Regions from separate parts of the Homo sapiens genome. Here region 2 is linked to region 1. Evidence: promoter capture Hi-C in 16 types of primary human blood cells and fetal thymus (Javierre and others, 2016). All regions are on one chromosome and are shown on one strand. Each heading gives the region's core, a stretch centred on a gene start or on the middle of the fragment in contact. The rest is flanking DNA. Distances are from core to core; before and after follow the strand shown.

What was found. Contacts are between HindIII fragments. The CHiCAGO score rates a contact against its expected background, and 5 or more counts as called.
Region 2: a contact is called between the fragment with the promoter of SLC46A1 here and a fragment that was not itself captured in region 1, in 1 of 17 cell types (M2 macrophages). The highest score is 5.8, in M2 macrophages.

What each region holds. Positions count from the first base shown.
Region 1 is chr17:27,799,504-27,806,322 of GRCh38, reverse strand. NOS2 (nitric oxide synthase 2) reads left to right here and starts at 5,794. Exons shown (of 27, transcript NM_000625.4): 1 at 5,794-5,984. RefSeq lists enhancers at 1-9, 1-165, 196-255, 579-599, 1-838 and 2 more, cis regulatory regions at 2,297-2,436, 3,095-3,230, 5,257-5,279 and promoters at 1-5,830, 5,589-5,881, 4,764-5,881, 1-5,961. The HindIII fragment of the contact is 4,636 bases long and covers 532-5,167 here.
Region 2 is chr17:28,404,901-28,412,041 of GRCh38, reverse strand. It overlaps SLC46A1 (solute carrier family 46 member 1), which reads left to right and starts at 5,830. Exons shown (of 5, transcript NM_080669.6): 1 at 5,830-6,155; 2 at 6,574-7,141. The coding sequence starts at 5,928. LOC124903964 (a long non-coding RNA gene) reads right to left here and starts at 1,340. Exons shown (of 2, transcript XR_007065688.1): 1 at 731-1,340; 2 at 1-617. RefSeq lists enhancers at 2,835-3,675, 6,816-7,141 and silencers at 5,649-5,988, 6,189-6,348. The HindIII fragment of the contact is 6,961 bases long and covers 4,012-7,141 here.

The sequences.
Region 1 (6,819 bases), core at 1,600-4,099:
CCAGAACCAAGGAAGGCTGCTCTGCCCACAGCAGGCCTTGGGAATTTAACCTCCCTGGGAGCAGCCTCAATGAGTGATGCTCTGGAACTGCTGGGTCAGTAGCCCAGCCCCTGGCCCCTTGGATGGGATCATTTGAAGCCCTGTTTTCTGCACCATTTTTCAAGTTCCCTGGTGGGGCTGAGTCTGGTTGCAAATCGTGAAAGCTGCCCTATAGTACTTTTACCAGCTGCCTCCCTTTCTCTGTCTCACTTCCTCATTCCCCTCCTGATGTCCCCTGCACTTCCCAGATACACTACTTGCCCCTGAATCTTGCCCCTTGAACCATCACACCCTGGGACTACCCCAGGTGCCACTCTGTTTGTTGTTTCTCCGCCTAGAAGGACGGGCACCCAGGAAGCAAAACGGGAGGGCAGGGAAGGGAGGGTGTTCTGGGGAGGCTTGACAAGAAACGAGGCTTTTAAAAGAAACAGCAGCAAAGTGCCAGGCCTGCACCAGCCAGCTTGAGTCACACTCCAGGGACTCAGCAAAGCTTGTCCACCTTCCTGGTCCACCCTGGGCCTGTCCATCCTGGAGTGACCACCGGGCGTTTCCAGTAAAAATCCCTTCACTTCACTTCCGTCATCTCCGAGTCAGGCAAGGTGGTGGAAACCGGGGAAGACCTCAGCTTCGGAGCTGCTGGAATTTGTGTGACTCACGCCCTCCAGTGGTCACTTGACAAATGACATAGGGCTCACGGTCTGGGGACTTGAGCTTGTTAGGGCCTCAGAACCGGGAGGGTCCCAGGAATGCCTCTTCTCAATGCCTTCCTTTGACAGCTGAGTGGAGTGAAGGCCCCACAGGACACGTGACTCGCCACGGGACATGCACACACACAAATAGAGAGTAAGAGCCACGCCCCTGTGTTTCCTTCACGTCCCACCTTTATCATTTGTGTCACATCTGCATGCACCTATACTGTTATTTGCTTAAACATTTTACCTTAAACTGGCTCTCTTTAAACCTTAAATATATTTCTAAAATAAAATTTTTATCACTTTCTGTGAGGCGGGGCACACAGTAGGAACTCCGTCTCCTCCTTCCATGGCCTTGCACAGAGCTGGCACCAGACACTGACATGGAGGGGAGAACATTCAACCCCAGGTAATCCTCAGCTCCTACCTTGATCTCAGTTTCCCACTCTCTCATTGTCACCTCTCCTTGCCCCTGGGTGTACTCACCTGTAGCAAAATGGGTAAGCACACAGTGGGCGCACAAGTGGGGTCCAGTCAAGGTCTCAGACCTGGGTCAGTCCTCAGCTTTGCCACTTACAAACTGAGTGACATTGAGCTGGTCGCTCAAACTTTCTGTGTCTCGGTTTCCTTATTGGTGAATTGGGGATAGTATTATAATAGTACCTGCCACACAACGTTGTTGGAGGATTAACTGAGATAATAAATGGAAAGCCCAGGGCCTGGCTGTATTTATGGAGCAAGCACCAGAGCAAGTGCAAGCTGGGACTCCAGGGTTGTAGCCCTGCCACCACCTGACTGTGTGGTCTTGGACAAGTCATTTGGCTTTGCTTAGCCTCAATTTCCCCATCTATAAAATGGGGCTAGTGATCATTCCCACCCCATAGGACTGTTGTGTGGATTAAATGCTTGGTATGTTTAAGTGCCTTGCTCAGTAAACGTTAGCTCTGATCAATTGTTTTTGTAGAAAAGCCTTCAAAGTTGCTAACTTCCGAGGGCTAACTGGATCTGAACCATCTTCACAGCCTGGCATAGAAACAGATCAAATCAATCCAGTGGAAAATCAATTCCAGGATAATGAGCCCAAGACATTCCCGTGCTGATTGCTGTCAGCATGGTGCCTAGGACAGCCTGGGAAGGCAGGGAGGAGGGCATTTCTCCACAGCAGCCTCGGAACCTCTATCGCCACCCTCCGGGGGGCCCACCTGTCCCCCGCCTGCCCTTCAAGGTGCTCTTTGATTTCTCCCCAGCAGAATTCACCTGCTGCATCCATCATCAGAAGAGGCCAGGAATGCGGCCTGCTGGGTGGGCAGGGCCAAGAAGAAGGCAGCCGTGCAGGCCCAGGAAGCCGTAGGAGACTTGCCAACCTCCAGGAGGGGGCCAGCCCTGGACCCTGCAGACAGGCGCTCTGGGGAGGGTACCAGAAGCTCACTGTTTGTCCCGGCTTGAAGGCTGTTTGCTGTGTGACCTTGGTGAGTCTCCTAACCTCTGTGTATCATCACAATCATTATCACTATTTTTACTCTCCTCCTCTTCCTATTTGCCGGTTAAGAGAGGATTGGGATAGTGGTCATGGTTATACAACATTGTGAATATTCTAAAAACCATTGCATTTTACACTTTAAAATAGTTAATTGGTAATTTTATGTTATGTGAAATTTATTCCAATTAAAAATTAAAAATACATACATGAATTTAATGTTACAAAGGGAGAGAGAGGACCGGGAATTTAAAAGCAGGTGTTTGTGGTGGGACGGGGACCTGTCTGAGGAAGGATACTTCAGAAGGCAAGTCCTGGCATCCACTTGCTCTTTGTCAAAAGGGAAATTGTTACTCTCTGACTCCCAGCAAGGATAATAAATTCTTACTTGGCTGACTTTTTGCTCAATGGCTCAAAGCATTTTCTTGTATCTCGTTTATTTACTTTTATTTTTATCACCTTTTGTCACGAGAAAAGTCAGGCCCAGAGAGAAGTGGCTTTTCCAAGATCACATGGTAGGTCAGCAGTGAAGCTGTGCCTCGAACCTGGGACCTTTCAGGCTAAAGGAAACCAGAACATGCCACGCCCAGATATGCCGATATGGCATCCTGATTATCTCCAGCTGAAGGCATTTGAGAAAGAGCAGCTAGAGAGAGGGCTATCTGAACTGCCCTGTCCTGCCTGCAGCAAGCCATAAACATTCCTTGGAGAAAGATGCTTTCCCAGCATCAAGATGAGAAGATAACTTTTATCAGCTCAGAGATGGCACCAGAGCCATCTACAAATACAAACAAACCTTGCTATCCTACTCCTTAGCTCACTTCCACATGTTTACCTTCTCACAGCTTGCCACCCCTGGAAGCCTACAACTGCATTCGTCTTGTCACCTTTCTCTTCTTTCTTTCTTTCTCTCTTTCCTTTCCTTTCTTTTCCTTTCCTTTCCTTTCCTTTCCTTTCCTTTCCTTTCCTTTCCTTTCCTTTCCTTTCCTTTCCTCCTTTCCCTCTTTTTTTTCCTTTTTTTTCTGAGACAGGCTAGGGTGCAGTGGCGCGACCATAGCTCTCTGCAGCCTCTAACTCCCAGACTCAATTGATCCTCCCACCTGATCCTCCTGAGTAGCTAGGACTACAGTAGCTGGGCATGCCACCATACCCAGCTAATTTATTTTCAATTTTTCTGTAGAGATTGGATCTCACTATGTTGCCCAGGCTGGTCTCGAACTCCTGGCCTCAAGCAATCTGCCCACCTCAGCCTCCCAAATTGCTGGGATTCCAGGCATGAACCACCGTGCCCAGCCATCTTGTCACTTTCTAAAATGCATTGCTCTTCATGGCAGATGCTCCATAAGCCAGAGTTCTAAGCCGCAGCATTGAGTTACTTTCACTGAGGCTTCTCCTGCGTGGTGTGCATCACAGACATTAACAAACTTGCTTTTTTTTCTCTATTATTAATCTGTCTTTTGTTACAGTGTCTTTCCCAACAAATAACTTAAGATGATTGAGGAGAAATTATATTTCCTTCCCAGCTGGCTAATTCCAAATGTGTCCTCAAGCCTGGTGCTTGGACTCAAACCCTGCCACAGGTCAAGAATGCCACACCAAGCAGACGCTGTGTTAGAGGGGCACCTGAGGTGACATGTTTGACAGATCACATAACTGAATAACTGCATTTTCTGAAGGAAAATCAACGAAGTGCTTTGAGGCCAAGTAGATGGGATTCTTGAGGATTCCATGAATAGCAAATAGTAGTATCCCCCTCAGAGGCTCTTGGGTGGGGGCATTAAATGTGTTAATACATGTGTTTGCTGCAGGTATAGCCAGAATATGTGAAAGCAGCTACAGGGAATAGAGTGTAGCAAACTCCTAATCATCCCTCAAAACCCTGCCCTGGTGTCCTCTCCCTTGTAAACTTTCCTTGAACAAGGCAGAACCAGCTACATCAGCACCATACCATCCCTCCATCACTACAGATATCACTCTGTACTATAATTATCCATTTATTTTTCTAGGCCTTGCACTCCCTAAGGCCAGGATTCTGACTCTTTCCCTGAGTGCTGTTTACCTGAACTGAACCGGCATGAACCACCACGCCCGGCCATCTTGTCACTTTCTAAAATGCATTGCTCTTCGTGGCAGATGCTCCATAAGCCAGAGCTCTAAGCCGCAGCATTGAGCCGCAGCATTGAGCTGAAGCCTGAAGGGAAGATGGCTTTGATATGTTAAAACTCATTCCAGTTTACTCCTATTTTTCATTCATTCATCCACACATTCACTCAACAAAGATCCTTGAGCTCTGATATCCATGTCTTTTTTGTGGCTCTTAGTTTATCTTTGACAAAGTTAATATATTATGCTGAATTTAACTTGGGAAAGACAAGAAGGAAATGAGTGGACAGTGGTAGCAAAGTGTTGGGACGGTGAGATCAAGGGTGACTTTTTTTCCCTTTGCTTCTCAACTTCTCCCTAATGTAGTTGTTATTTTACTTTTATGATGGAAAAATGCATATGTATGGGAATACTGTATTTCAGGCATTATAAGGAATGAAATTATAGGCCGGGCATGGTGGCTAACCCTTGTAATCCTAGCACTTTGAGAGGCTGAAGTGGGCAGATCACTTGAGCTTCAGAGTTCGAGACCAGCATGGACAACATGGTGAAACCCAGTCTCTACCAAAAACACAAAAATATTAGCTGGGTGTGGTGGTGCATGCCTGTAGTCCCAGCTACTCAGGAGGCTGAGGTGGGAGGATCGCTTGAGCCTGGGAGGCAGAAGTTGCAATGAGCAGAGATCGTGCCACTCCGCTCCAGTCTTGGTGACAGAATGAGACTCCATCTCAAAAATAAATAAATAAATAAAATAAATGAAATGAAATTATAAGAAATTACCACTTTTTCATGTAAGAAGTGATCATTTCCATTATAAGGGAAGGAATTTAATCCTACCTGCCATTCCACCAAAGCTTACCTAGTGCTAAAGGATGAGGTGTTAGTAAGACCAACATCTCAGAGGCCTCTCTGTGCCAATAGCCTTCCTTCCTTTCCCTTCCAAAAACCTCAAGTGACTAGTTCAGAGGCCTGTCTGGAATAATGGCATCATCTAATATCACTGGCCTTCTGGAACCTGGGCATTTTCCAGTGTGTTCCATACTGTCAATATTCCCCCAGCTTCCTGGACTCCTGTCACAAGCTGGAAAAGTGAGAGGATGGACAGGGATTAACCAGAGAGCTCCCTGCTGAGGAAAAAATCTCCCAGATGCTGAAAGTGAGGCCATGTGGCTTGGCCAAATAAAACCTGGCTCCGTGGTGCCTCTATCTTAGCAGCCACCCTGCTGATGAACTGCCACCTTGGACTTGGGACCAGAAAGAGGTGGGTTGGGTGAAGAGGCACCACACAGAGTGATGTAACAGCAAGATCAGGTCACCCACAGGCCCTGGCAGTCACAGTCATAAATTAGCTAACTGTACACAAGCTGGGGACACTCCCTTTGGAAACCAAAAAAAAAAAAAAAAAAAAGAGACCTTTATGCAAAAACAACTCTCTGGATGGCATGGGGTGAGTATAAATACTTCTTGGCTGCCAGTGTGTTCATAACTTTGTAGCGAGTCGAAAACTGAGGCTCCGGCCGCAGAGAACTCAGCCTCATTCCTGCTTTAAAATCTCTCGGCCACCTTTGATGAGGGGACTGGGCAGTTCTAGACAGTCCCGAAGTTCTCAAGGCACAGGTCTCTTCCTGGTTTGACTGTCCTTACCCCGGGGAGGCAGTGCAGCCAGCTGCAAGGTGAGTTGCCTTCATTTCTGGGGAAGCGGCTGTTTTGAGAGGGTTTTGTTTCTTCCTCTTTGAGAAGGCTCAGAAAATTGTGGGAATTTTCTGCCTACAGAGAGAAGGTGTTGGAAAGTCTAGGTAAAAAAATGCCGACATGAGGTTTGGTCATTTGAACATGGCATCTTGGTCAGATTTCTTTTCTGCAAATATTAGCTGTGGTTGTTACATGACAAGGAAAAACTTTCTGAAAAGTTCAAAATGGGAGTTTGTATCTGCTAAGAATTTTTTTTAACAGAGATTATCTTATCAGTCCTTATAACATGTAACCTCCCCACAAATCCTGGTAAGATGGATATATTAAACCCATTTTATGGATGAATAAATGAGTTTCAGTTAAATAACTTGATCCAGGACACATAACTGGTAGAGCTAGGATTCCAGGATTTGAACCCAGGTCTATGGGGCTATAAGTTCTTTTCTTTCTTTCCCTCTTTCCTTCCTTTCCTTCCTGTCCTTTCCTCCCTTCCCCTCCCTTCCCTTCCCTTTCTTTCTTTTTTTTTTTTGGAAACAGCCTTGACTGCCCAGCCTCAAGCAATCCTTCTGCCTCAGCCTCCCGAGTAGCTGGGACTACAGGCACAAGACACCATGCCTGCCTGGCTAATTTTTCAATTTTTTGTAGTCAAGGTCTCCCTATGTTGCCCAGGCTGAACTCGAACTCTTGGACTCAAGCGATCCTCCTGCCTCGGTCTCCCGAAATGCTGGGATTACAGGCGTGAGCCACTGCACTTGGCCTAAAATTCTTACATGGACTATATTCACTACACTGTCTTCTAAAGACAGAGTTTTTGCC
Region 2 (7,141 bases), core at 4,581-7,080, 600 kb before region 1:
GGTAGCATCCCTCTGTAAGGCCCAACTTTTCCTCTCACTTGGGACAGCCTCACTTCTTTCTGGTGAAATCCCTCCTACCTTCAAGCCCAGTTCAACAGCAATCATCATCTCTGGCACCTGGACACAGCCACATAAAGTTCACAGCCATACATATTTTCTCATTTGACCCAAACATCCACCCCATAGGTAGATATTATTACTTCATTTTTCACAGACAAGGAAATAGAGGCCCAGAAATTATTTCATTGATGAGAAAATTGAAGCCAGAAAGGGACTTGGTCAAAGTCTCACAGCGATGGGGGCATAGTTGCAGCTTCTACTCAGTGCTGGGAACACCCTTAGTTGTGACAAGGATGCTGCTTTGACTTTTAGGGTTGCTATGTGAGAAGCAACATCTCAAAAAGGAAAATAGCTTTTCTCTCATGCTGTCTCCTTCCTTCCTCTCAGTGTCTAAAATCATGAAGAGCTCTTTGGAAGCTGTAAGTGGCCTCTTGCAAAAAGGAGGCATAGGTTTTGGGTGGAGGCTGTGATAAGACTGCTGTTTGGATGAAGAATCCCTGTTGCAATCTTCTCTGTCACAGTGGTTGTATAGACAGCCTCTCGTAGGCATTATCCAACTGGAAGCAAAGAGAAACCCTTATGACTTCCAGGCACTTCCCCAAAGCCTCTCAAAATTTACTGAGTACATATCCTGGGGTTGGACAACACAGTTTTTAGTGCCAGTACTTACCATTCCCAAGCCCATGGCAGACATCAAGAATGAATCGCAGGACTCCTTCCCACAAAGCTGGAAAAATAGCCCATCTCAATGTAGCAATCCAGACAGATTCAATCAATTGACTGGAGTTGATGCATGTCATCAAAGTTATTTAACATTTTATCTTATTGCATGTCAAGCCCAGGGATAGGGAATACAGAGGTGAAAAAAATTTTCTCTGCCCTCAAATCTGGAGGCAGGACATAGGTAGGGGTTAAGAGGAGACAAACCTGGGAACACATATTTATAACCAGGTTAAGTTTAAAACCAGGGTTAAATGTATGAACCCAGTATTGTGGAAGTACATATTAGCCAATGACTAATTCCGCCTAGAAGTGAGACACAGAGGTGGGTTTTGAAGGATGAAAAGGAGCTGAATAGGCCAAGCAAAGTAGGAAGGGTATTACTGGCAAAGAGACTAACATATACTAAGGCTTAGAATAACAGAAAGCACTAGAACAGGTAGGTGTAAGGAAAAGAAAACCTGTACCCAGAGTGAGAAAAACCATTTCCCTTCATCCCTCTATGCTGTAGTTACATCATCTGTAAAAATAATAATACCTGGCCGGGCGCGGTAGCTCACACCTGTAATCCCAGCACTTTGGGAGGCCGAGGTGGGCGGATCACTTGAGGTCAGCAGTTTGACACCAGCGTGACCAACATGGTGAAACCCTGTCTCTACTAAAAATACAAAATTAGCCAGGTGTCCCGGCACATGCCTGTAATCCCAGCTACTTGGGAAGCCAAGGCAGGAGAATCGCTTGAACCTGGGAGGCAGAGATTGCAGTGAGCCGAGATCACGCCATTGCACTCCAGACTGGGCAACAAGAGTGAAACTCCATCTCAAAGAAAAAAAAATTGTAATACCTATCTCATAAGGCTGTAGTCAGGATTCAGTAAGATAATGTATGTAATGCCCTCAGTATGGTGCTGCCTGCTTCAATAAAAGTCAGCTCCTAGTGATGTCTCCAGAACATCAAGGAGCATGAAGCTGATATTTGGCAATTGAGCCAGAATACATTTGAAGGAGAGGAGTATCATCAGATTTTTAAAATGTTTATGTTTTCCATGATTAAAACATATGTTTATATCTGTTTATATCAGAAGGGTTGAAAACATTTTAAATAGAAGAAAAGAGAATCTTACCTAACCCTACTACCACGCAGAGAGGACTTCTGTTAATATATTGGTGCCATGGTTTCCAGTCTTTACTCAGTGCAATTCTTTTCTATGCCTATGACCATACCACATAAACAAGCTCTCTGTTTTTTCTACATACAAATTATTATGTAAGCAGTTTTCCATATTATTATAATCTCTTTGAACATATCATTTTAATGACTCATATTCATGGAGTGGATAGACTATAATTTACTCAGCCATTTCGCTACTGTTGGACACATAGGTTGTTTATCTTTTTTTTTTTTTTTTTACTCTTGTCAATATAATGTTATGGGAGAATATCTTAGCACATAAGGCTTTTTTCTGTACTTGAGACTATTTCCTTTAGATAGAGACCTACATGTAGAATTAGAGGCTTCAAGGGTCTTGATTAAAGGCTACCAAATTTTTTCCTGAAAGGGTGTATTTACACTCCTTCAGCAGTATTTGTTTCACTGTAGCCTTACCAGCTTTGAGCATTCTCATTTTAAACAAAATCATTGCTAATGTGTTGGCTGCAAAGAACAAGATCAAAGGCACAGTGTTTTTCTCACTATTCAGAAGCTGGAGAAGAGCTCATTTGTGTGTCTCACATGCATGTTCTGTGTTACAACCTCTCAGTGCTTGGTTTTTATCTGTTTACTGAGGGAGGGATCTTCAGGTTATTATCACATATAGTTAAAATAGTAACCCTTTGTCATATTTTATTTTATTTTATTTTATTTTTTTGAGATGGAGTTTCGCTCTTGTTGCCCAAGCTGGAGTGCAATGGCATGATCTCGGCTCACCGTAACCTCCACCTCCCGGGTTCAAGCAATTCTCCTGCCTTAGCCTCCCGAGTAGCTGGGATTACAGGCATGTACCACCACGCCCGGCTAATTTTGTATTTTTAGTAGAGATGGGGTTTCTCCATGTTGAGGCTGGTCTTGAACTCCTGACCTCAGGTGATCCACCCGCCTCGGCCTCCCAAAGTACTGGGATTACAGGCATGAGTCACTGCGCCCGGCCATATTTTAAAAGAAAGATTTTTCTTTCTTTTAATGACAAACAAATGACTTTGTTTGTCATTTGCCTTTGAATTAAGGCTTTATGTTCTGATGGAAATAAGTCTACAGATCTTTTCCTTTGCAATAGCTTCTCCTTTCCTGTAGAAATTTGACAGGCAGGACTTTTTAGCTCTCTCTGGGTAAGTCACCTTTCCCTCTGGACCTCAGTTTCCCTGTCTTTTAAATGGTTGGATGGGTGGAGATGTGATTTCTCAGCTTCCTTCTAGGTGGAGATTCTTGGGCTCTGGACTCCACAGTGCAGCTCAACATTGGCAACCCTCTCCACATGCTCTGGGACTCCAGCTGCGGAATCTCCTCTCCTTGAGACTGAGAGTTCATTCAGCGATCGTCTTTTGAGCATCTACCACACGCCAGGCACTATTCTAGATGCTGGGGATATGGTAGTGATGAAAAAACAAAGTCCCTGCCATCATGACCTCTAGTAAAGGGAGATGGACAACAAAGAAACCAGAAAGTTATAATTCAGATGGTGATAAACACTATGGAAAAAAATGAAACAGGGTAAAGGATTAGGGAGTGCCAGGAAGCAAGGAAGGAGGGAAGTTGCTTATATAGGAGGGTCAGGTGACATTTTAGTGGAGACTTGAAGGAAGTGAGGGAGCCGGCCAGGCAGATATCCAGAAGAGCATTCTAGGTAGTAGTTACCGCAAGTGTAAAGGCCCTAAAGCAGGAGGCCAGCATGGCTTGAGCACAAGGATTGAGGGGGACAAAGCAGGGGAGAGGGACAGAGAAGAGGTAGGTGGCCTTAGGGCTCTCATAAGGACTTGGCTCTCACTGAGCGAAATGGAAAGCCCAGGATGGTTTTGAGCAGGCCAGTGACCTGATTGCAGCTGTTTTCAAGGAGTTAGAAAAGACCTCTACCCTAGTGGGTACTGCAGGCTCTGGCTCTGGGATGAGCCACACCCTGTCCCATTCCTGATGAGGGACCTTGGCCTCTCCTAGCCTTAGTTCTTTATCTAAGAAATAATTCCAAGGATTTAGCCAAGTACCCCTCCCTCACTGCAGCTGACCTAACTGGGCCAAGCTTTTGTGTAAGTGGTAGGGAGGAGTTGGAAGGGGAGGGAGGAGAGTGGAGCCAATCCAGAGGCTTGAATGTTTAATGTGGAATTTCCTCTCTCTAGGGGACCACAGGTGGGGGCAGCTTGCAGGGGGAGGTTATTCAGTTCACTAGTATCTAGCCAGCACCTACCCATCCTGAGTCTCGGACTCCTGGCTCAGGGGAGGTGGGGTAGCTAACAAGCTCCAACAGGCCCAGGCACAGTCACAGTGGCCAGAATTGGAGCCATCCATCCTCCCAAGAATCAGGCCTGTCAGGACCTGCCTCCAGAAACCCACTCAGCTGCTCTGTTCTCAGGGAAGGTGGCCTTTCCTGATTCTGCTCCCCCTACCTCCAGCCCCTGAATTAGCACCCTTGGAGTTCAAAACTATTTTCCACGGTTGGAATTTTGTATCAATTAGTAGGATTCTTTGACTATTTTTCCTCTCCCACCATTCTAGAAACTAACGGGCCTGGTGAGGGCTTTGTCTATTTCCTTTCCTGTTGTGGTCCCGGAGTCCCCCAGCACAGTGCCTGGCACGTAAGGGGCACTCAGTAAATGAGCTGAATGAATGAAAGATAGGGGAGTAAGGAAGGTAATGCTGTTCCTTTTTACAGGCAATAAAACAGAGGCCCAGACAGGGTCTGACCTCCTCAGCAGCAGAGCAGGTGACTGCCTTCTGGCCTAATTCCTATAATGGGAGCCACCCAGGAGCATAGGTTCACACCCAAGGACCTCCCAGGCCCTCCCCCATCTTCTCTAAGGGAACTGCAGAGCCAGGCCCTGCCTGACCCCAGAAACAAGACTAGTTTCCCAGGAAAAGATCCTAGGGCAGGAGTGGAGCAAGTGACAGCTTGTTTTTTATTTTATTTTTATTTTATATTTTTTGAGACAGGGTCTTGCTCTGTCACCCAGGCTGGAGTGCAGTGGTGCGATCTCAGCCCACTGCAACCTCTGCCTCCTGGGCTCAATTGATCCTCCCACCTCAGCCACCCGAGTACCTGGGACTACAGGTATCTGCTACTACGCCTGGCTAATTTTTGTGTATTTTTTGTAGAGACAGGGTTTTACCATGTTGCCCAGATTGGTCTCGAACTCCTGGGTTCAAGCGATCCATGCGCCTCAGCCTCCAAAAGTGCTGGGATTACAGGTGTGAGCCACCACTCCCAGACGTGACAGCCTGTTAATAGCAATAATAGCACTTTGAATATACCAGACACTGCTTTTCCACAACTTTTTGAGACATGTTTTGTTAGCAACTCCATTTTACAGATGAAAAAACAGAGGCTCAGGGTGGTAAGTGGCATGCCGAAGGTAGTGGCAGAGCCTAGGTGCTCCAACCCAGGCAGCTGGGCTCAGCCCACTCCGATCCTCTCCAGCTGCCTCTCTGTTACAGCGCAGAACATCAGCAGCATCAGGAGTCATGTGCTCTTCCAGCTCTGCCTTGAGTACCCGATGACCTCGTTTCCTCAGCGGTAGATAGCGATGGTTAATATTGGCTAGCCTGTAGAGTTATCGGGAGACCAACGCACAAAAAGGGTTTAATACCGTGCCCAGCACATAGTAAGTGGTCAATACATGTTAATTGTTGATATTCTTGTTATCTGTGGTGTGTCTGGGCCGGGAGGGAGGGCTGCAGGGCGGTGTCTACGCACACTTTACAGGTGAGGTCATCCCGCGGGCTGGGGGTGCCGGGCCCCTCGCTGGCCCACGCCCAGCCAGGTGCACCCGCGGCGAGAGTCCGGTGGCCTCAGGTCACAGGCCCCTCCCCGCCGGACATTTAAGGAGGGACGCCGGGCGCAGGCGCAGACAGCGCAAGCCCCACGCCACGCGTCGCTGGTCCCAGGCAGCGAGTCGCTCGCGCGCCCCGCCGCCCGCCTGGCGACAGCTCCGCCGCGCACGCACATGGAGGGGAGCGCGAGCCCCCCGGAAAAGCCCCGCGCCCGCCCTGCGGCTGCCGTGCTGTGCCGGGGCCCGGTAGAGCCGCTGGTCTTCCTGGCCAACTTTGCCTTGGTCCTGCAGGGCCCGCTCACCACGCAGTATCTGTGGCACCGCTTCAGCGCCGACCTCGGCTACAATGGCACCCGCCAAAGGGGGGGCTGCAGCAACCGCAGCGCGGACCCCACCATGCAGGTAGCGGGGCGGCGAGGAGCCTGGCAGGTGGAGGGCCCTGGTCTGGAGCGTGGGGGCAGCGGAGGGGCGGGGCCTGCGTAATGGTAGTGGCGGGTAACTGGAGGGAGGGTGCATTTTGGATGGTGGGCGGGACCAGAGCAAAGGGGCCTGACCGAGAACCTCAGCGGGTGGGATGCGAAAAGCTGAGCTAAAGTCTGGCCTTGCAGGTTAACAAAAGGGGGGGGAAAGGAAAGGGAATGGGGCCTTGGTCCATGTCCTTCCCCCTCTCCACTGGCAGATTTTGAAAGCTGTGCTAAGATTCTCTGAGGTTTAGGGCTCCAAAGGAAGTCCTCATCCCTGTAGCTCCCGGGATGGCGAGGATTTGGGGATTGTGGAACCCAGAGTGAGGAACCGCACCCTGGTCATTGTGCCCCTACAGGAAGTGGAGACCCTTACCTCCCACTGGACCCTCTACATGAACGTGGGCGGCTTCCTGGTGGGGCTCTTCTCGTCCACCCTGCTGGGAGCTTGGAGCGACAGTGTGGGCCGCCGCCCGCTGCTAGTGCTGGCCTCGCTGGGCCTGCTGCTCCAGGCCCTAGTGTCCGTTTTTGTGGTGCAGCTGCAGCTCCACGTCGGCTACTTCGTGCTGGGTCGCATCCTTTGTGCCCTCCTCGGCGACTTCGGTGGCCTTCTGGCTGCTAGCTTTGCGTCCGTGGCAGATGTCAGCTCCAGTCGCAGCCGCACCTTCCGGATGGCCCTGCTGGAAGCCAGCATCGGGGTGGCTGGGATGCTGGCAAGCCTCCTCGGGGGCCACTGGCTCCGGGCCCAGGGTTATGCCAACCCCTTCTGGCTGGCCTTGGCCTTGCTGATAGCCATGACTCTCTATGCAGCTTTCTGCTTTGGTGAGACCTTAAAGGAGCCAAAGTCCACCCGGCTCTTCACGTTCCGTCACCACCGATCCATTGTCCAGCTCTATGTGGCTCCCGCCCCAGAGAAGTCCAGGAAAC